2 separate regions of the Homo sapiens genome follow, and region 1 is linked to region 2. Evidence: promoter capture Hi-C in 16 types of primary human blood cells and fetal thymus (Javierre and others, 2016). All regions are on one chromosome and are shown on one strand. Each heading gives the region's core, a stretch centred on a gene start or on the middle of the fragment in contact. The rest is flanking DNA. Distances are from core to core; before and after follow the strand shown. Region 1 holds the start of SLIT3-AS1 (SLIT3 antisense RNA 1). Region 2 holds the start of SLIT3 (slit guidance ligand 3).

The links. Contacts are between HindIII fragments. The CHiCAGO score rates a contact against its expected background, and 5 or more counts as called.
Region 1: the fragment with the promoter of SLIT3-AS1 here is called in contact with the fragment with the promoter of SLIT3 in region 2 in 1 of 17 cell types (megakaryocytes); the score reaches 7.5 in megakaryocytes.

What each region holds. Positions count from the first base shown.
Region 1 is chr5:169,011,824-169,015,112 of GRCh38, forward strand. It overlaps SLIT3-AS1 (SLIT3 antisense RNA 1), which reads left to right and starts at 1,404. Exons shown (of 5, transcript NR_109897.1): 1 at 1,404-1,561. The region is part of intron 4 of SLIT3 (slit guidance ligand 3); the gene reads right to left. The HindIII fragment of the contact is 2,662 bases long and covers 1-2,239 here.
Region 2 is chr5:169,299,423-169,302,737 of GRCh38, forward strand. SLIT3 (slit guidance ligand 3) reads right to left here and starts at 1,717. Exons shown (of 36, transcript NM_003062.4): 1 at 1,091-1,717. The coding sequence starts at 1,287. The HindIII fragment of the contact is 7,800 bases long and covers 1-3,315 here.

The DNA of each region.
Region 1 (3,289 bases), core at 154-2,653, 290 kb before region 2:
TTGTAGGAAATAAAGAGTATGATTCTGGGGAAGCCCCCTGTATAGCACTGCCCACTTTGATAAAAATATCATTTATTCATTCAACATAGGGGACTTCAAAAACAGAGTAATATTCTTTCTTGCTTTTTTTTTTTTTTGGTTTAACTAGGTGTTAGAAGGTAGGAACCACTTTTATTGTCATTTTTTATTCTTTATAACTTGATATGTTATAAACATTATTTATTATCTACTAAATAGCAAATACAAATGATAACTCTTCATTGTTGATGAAAGCCATTTTTCGGGGGTACAGGAAAGGGCATCTTATAGATTGGGAGATGAGGATTTTGATGATTGCCTAGAAGACTTTATTTTGTAATAATCCTGAAGCAAAATGGCATGAAGCTCTGCTGACCTGTGATAACTGTGTGTATTTCCTTCCAGTGTCTCACCAACTGGCAGCCATCCACTTCAGGTGTGCCCGTTGAAGGATGCCACCTCGAAGGAGATGGGACCAGCCTTGTGTTGGGGTGAGGATTCTGGCCACTTGATCTGGGCAGGAGTGCTCTGCTCAGAGTGCAGTGCTCAATCTTACAAGCCTGGCTCGCCTGAACTGTGAAAGGTCAGCAGGACTAAGCTGAGCGCCAGGATTCCAACTTCCCTTCTTCCGCCCCAGGTCTGGCAACTTGTAAATGTGGAGGCTCTGCTAAGCACTGGGATTTTATTAAGGGCCTCGTTAAAATTTACTAGAATCAAATAAAGAAAAGATCCAGCCTTGGAAATCATTCTCCACGCTGTCTCTCCTTCTGACCTCTTCTCAACCCCCATCCCCCACACCATTTATTCATCCGTGAAACCTTTAACAACTGAACTAATTCTGGAAAGTTGCCCATATCAGATATCTTCAGAAATCACTTTGGAAAATGCCTTTAGGAAGGTAGGACACCTCTTCCCATTTGTCTTATGATGGCAGGTCCAGAGCTTACATGAAGAGGCAGTGAGGCAAAGATGTAAAGAATATGGACTCTTCAGTCAGACCTGGGATGAACCCCGGCCATTACCTACTCACGGAGGAGCCTGGGCCACTTATCTAACCTCTCTGAGGCTCACTTTCTGCGTCTATCAAATGAGAATAGCGCTACTATCTGCTGTATGAAACACTGACCGAGTTAAGCAAAATAATGCAGGTTAGCTGCTTAATCCAGTGTCTAGCACATAGCAAGTGCCAAAAATGTGAGCGATTAAAAGGGGTCTTTTACTAGCACTGGCCACATCCCCATCTTATCGCTTTATCTTCCATTGAGCAGAGGTTCTGCCAGGTGCAGGGGACAAGGGAGAAGAAAAGACACGCACATTCTCCTGGGCTTCAAAGTTGTCCCATCCTTCTGTGATGTCATAATCTGAGCCATAGCCCACAAATGTGAACTCCAACAACCCCCAAACCCAGTCCTCACCTCCCACATGCTTTTCATCACCCGCTCTCACATCCCATCTGGGGCCTCTGCTTCCATCCTACCATTTCGCAAGCCTGGCCAACTCAAGCTCCGTGTGCTGCACCTAGAGCAGCCCATCTCTGTGTCAGGTAAGCACGTCAGGGCCCCCAGGATGGGAGACAGGAAAACCTCTTCTGGGGGAAGCCGAAATGGAGCAAAATGGGACAGCTCTTTGGTTTTGTAATTAAAACTGAAACCCGATCCTTCTGCTCTCAGAGACCTGACCACAGGTTTCGTTTTTCAAAGGGCTACCTGGATGCTTATTAAAGGCCAACTTGTGCCCAAGATTGGGTTACTCCACTTTCAGCAGCTGCTTGACCTCTGCCTCTTACGCCCGTTCTGAGATGAAGGCTCATGTGGAATTAAACCCGGGCTAAATAGGTGGCCCAGGGCAGCCGGGGCCCCATGCAGCTCCTCGAAAGACAAATGTATTTTGAGCAGGCCTGGCTCCTACTCCTTCAGGTCTCTGCTCAAATATTCATTCACCTGCCCTCCAAACCTACAGTTACTTACCTCTTCCTTCTTCCTCACATTGTCGTATTTTCTCATGCCACTTACTCTAAAGTGCCTGGTTTATAGATCTGCATACTTGCTCTGGCTTGCAGGCCTCTAGGCTGTTGGTTCCCTGAGAAGAGAGACTGCCTGTCTTGTTCATGCTATAGTTCCTGTGTGTGATAGTTATTGCACTGAGTGGATGAGGGAGAAGGATAAAAGTCATAAAATGCCTCGCAAAAACTTTGAGGTCTGCCTGCCTGGTATTACAGAGAAGCTTGCACAATACAGAATGTTTTGTGGGAAGGAAGGCAGGCAGGCAGGCAGGCAGGCAGGCAGGTTGGTTATGTTTTCACTCTTGATATCTCAAAGCTTTATGACACACTCATGGAGTGAACATAATCTTTGTGGCATGATACAAAGGGACTGAATCACTCAAGAAGATAATTTTATCTGGTAGTATCACCTGCCTTTATACATTATACATGTATTCTTATTCTCTCTCTCCAGCTATATATATCCAGAAAATTTTCTGAACCAAAATTGGCCAGGTCCTGAATACCTAAGTCCATGGAGTGGAAAGTCAGTACAAATTTGATGAGAGCCAGGAAACCTGAAGTACTGGTGGGGGAGAGGATGGTGAGGTGGAGAAGAGAAAGAATAGCCACAGCCAGGGCTTTTCTTTGGCTGAAGCCTAGGATAGACTTAGACAGGTCAAGACCAACGTCAAGCCGGCTTCCTCCACACAGACACACACACTTTCCTTCGCTCCTCTGAGCTGGAAAACAGTGCCTTTTGCACACAGGAATGAAGAGAAGGAAGGAAAATAGGGCAGAGAAGGTGAGCTAGCCCTGAGTGTAGGAGCATTAAGAAGCAACCTCATGCTGGTGCAGTGGTTCATTCTTTTAATCCCAGCACTTTGGGAGGCCAAGGCAGGTGGATCATCTGAGGTCAGGAGTTTGAGACCAGCCTGACCAATATGGTGAAACCCTGTCTCTACTAAAAATACAAAAATTAGTTAGGCGTGGTGGCACATGCCTGTAGTCTCAGCTACTCAGGAGGCTGAGACAGGAGAATTACTTGAACTCGGGAGGCAGAGGTTGCAGTGAGCTGATATCATGCCACTGCATTCCAGCCTGGGTGACAGAGCGAGACTCCATCTCAAAAAAATAAAAATAAAAATGCAACCTCAGAAGGTGGCAATAATGACCTTGTAGATTACAGAACCAAACTTGCAGGAGGGCAAAAAGCAAAACCTTGTCATTGATAAGGGCTATCCATCCATATAAAATGAATTACAAACCAACTAACTGGACAAAAAAAAA
Region 2 (3,315 bases), core at 467-2,966:
GGAAGATCCAGGCGCCTACCCCTAAGGCACATGAGGAAGGGGAGAAGAGGGAGAGCAAGACACGGAGGGAATCTACCACACTAGAGCAAACCCTCACCCACTTCTCGGCTGGGTTCCCAGTAAGGCTTCCCACCCACTCCAGCGTTTCTCCCCCACTCCCTTACCCCACCCCAACTGCGGACTAAGAGGAGCCCACCCCGGAGTCCAAGTTTTGAATCTGGTCCGAGGATCAAAATGATAAATGTTTCCAAAACGTTGACATATGAAAAGTAAATATTTGGTTGCACAATTGGGGCTAAAACTAGGGTCAATCCACCCCATTCTCCAAGCGCCTCTCCATTCGCTGCCAAGCCCAGGATCTGAGGCTGAGTGCGGTTTGTAAGATTATAACGCTCGGTCTCATTTGAAGGGCTGTCAGCATTTCCATTCTCCGGCCCCTTCGTTCGGGGAGGCATTTATAACCGAGCCATAAAAAATTCACCCGGGGCTGCAACTTGGCATCTCCCAGACTGCGCTCCAGGCAGAGCGGGTTTTGCGAGCACCCACTCTGAATCTGTCCAGTTCCTCAGAAGTTAAACCTTCACCCACACTCTCAACTTTCCTTGCAAGGGCAGCCAGAGAGCGGCTGGCCCATTCTGATCTCCAAGCAGGTCAACAGTCTCGGGCCCTCTCTCCCGCCTCCGCGCCTTGACGGCCCATCATCCTATAGCTTTCTCCTTCGCCCGCCCCCCTTTTTAACGAGCGCAGACCCCTGACCCTCACCCTAAGACCTTGAGGCTGCAGTGCTCTTGCCTCCCCTCGCCTCTCCTCAGCTACTCCTTGGAAGCTGTCAGCGGGCCCTGCGTCTGGAACCCTCACCCCTGGAGAGGCACTGCTCTTTGCCCATCGCTGGGGGTTTCGAGACCTCTCTTTCCAGATCTGACCAAGCCTACAGACCCCCAGCTCGGAGAGTGAGGGATCGTATCCAGGAAGGGATGAGAATAGAGACTGCATCCAGGGAGGCCGAGGGGAAAGGACGGATCTGGCGCCTGGGGCCCCCTCGGTGGGACCCAGGTGGGTGGCCCGCGTGGGGTGGGGCAGGGGTACTCACAGGCGCTCAGCGTTGCGGGGGATGCCCCGAGGAACCGCGCGGAGGCCCAGCCCGTGGCAGTCCACGCTGGCAGCGGAGCAGGTACACTTGGTGGGGCAGGCGACGGCTGGAGGCCCACTCAGGACGCTCGCCAGCGCCAAGGCCAGCGCCAGGCGGGCGCGCACGGCGGCGCCGACCCCTGCCCACCCGGGGGCCATGGTGTGCAGGGCCCCGCTCCTGGAGGAGGCTGCCTCTGCGGGGCAAGACGCGTGGAGCCCGAGGAGGCGCGCGGGGAGCGCGGGCGGCCTGGGGAGCGGGCGGCGGAGTTAGCGCGGAGGAGGGGCGAGCTCGGTGCTCAGGCGCACGGGGCGCGGGCGGAGCGGGGCGCTCCGGGCGGCGGCGGCGGCAGCAACAGCAGCTCCATCGGCGGGGCCGGCGCTGCCCCGCTGCGCATCGCTGGGAGTGCCCAGGTGCGGAGCGCCCCCTGGCCCCGCTGGCCCGCGGGCCGGGTTGGGGACCTGGGGCGAGCGCAATGGGGCGTGGCGCCCGGGGAGGTCCGGCTTGGGGCTGGGCTGGGGAGCGCGGCGGCTGCGGCTGGGGCACGGGGCGGCCGGGTGAGCTGGCCGGCGCTCGCTCTCTCCATTCAGTGAGCACGGCAGACACCGGAGACGCGGGGCCCACCCCTCCGGCCCCCCCCCGACCAAGAAACGCCAACTCCGCCTCCCATTGGCTGCGCCGCGCGTCATGTCGACTAAGTTGGGAACTTTGCTGGAGCGACCGAGAGCCTGGAGGGAGGAGGCAGTAGAGGAGGGAGAGAGAAGGAACCAGGGAAGGAAAGGGGCTCGGCCAGCAGGGCCCCTGGAAAGAAACACTGAAACTCATTCACTGTTAAGATCCAAGGACGGATAAGGCTCCTGACACTTTTTTTTTTTTAATTTTTGCACTGAGCTGAGCACTCTACTCATATTCTTTACTTAAGTCCACGATCTTCCAAGGGGTCGTCTGAAAACAGCTCAGAGAAGTGAAGCGACTTGCTGGAGGTCGCACAGCTGCTAGGGACGCCAAACCATGGCAGTGTCGCCCACGAAGCCGCTTCCCTACCGCACCTAGTACTCATGGCAGAGATCCACAATTTTGCCTGAAGAGCCTTGGTTGACACCAATGTACTCCACAGCTACACACACACACACACCGTGGTCCATGTTGTTGAGGTCACTGCTGGCAAACCTTACCCGGAAACTTGCCCTGCTTTGCCCAGACCCAGCGCTTGGTGGACTGGTAAAAGTAGTGATGGCAGCGACTTGGACCCCTGGATTGACAATGCCTTGTTCCATCCTCGGGTTTCTGCTTCCTGACTGGGTGACTCTGGGCCAATCGTGTCATCTCTGAGCCTTCGTTTTCTCAAATCCGGGGCCACAGTCCTACCTGGCCTCACCTCCCTGGGTTGTTTGGAGCATCACAGAAGAGAACGTGTTTTTGCAAAAGTCATTCGCAGACGAGGCATCCCTTCTGTCCCCAGCGCCTTCTTTCTTCCAGCGCCCGCTTTAAATTGGCTAGGTCTGAGCTTTTCCAGATGCCAGTGGGGAGGGGCGTGTGCGTTAGAGGCTCCATAAATACTTGTAGGAATGATTTTGTTTGTTTGTTTGAAAGGAAAGGGCAGGAACTGGAGGAAGTATTGCCCAGATTTCCTTGAGGTCCCCTCACACTGAGAAGGCCTGAATGAGCCCTGCATATATATACACACACACTGGTGCCTACGTATTCACAGCCACGCACACACTCTCACATACTCAGGCTCACACACACCCATTTATACACCGGCAATCACACACACGTGTACATGCATGCTCGCACACACACTCACATAGTGACAACTATACTCCTGAGAGCGCTTCTCTTTTCTTTCATAAGAATACTATTCTGATTTCTTCTACCTCATTTTCCTTCAAGGAAACTTTCAACTACTTGACCACATCCTGTGAATATATAGTAGAGTTGTAGATTTTATTGTATTATACTTAGCAGATTTTCAAAGTCTTAGCTTTGGGCACCCACTTGCGCGCGCGTACACACAAACACACACATACGCACACTCACTCAAACACACACACTCGAGTCCCTTCATCATTCATAAACACATTAGGTGCAATTTACTGCTGTTATTCTTGGGAACGGCTTTCTGTACAGATGCTGTTGTTATCGCCCCCTGGTGGCTGGCGAGGGTCTATGCTCCGGTCTTCAGGGTG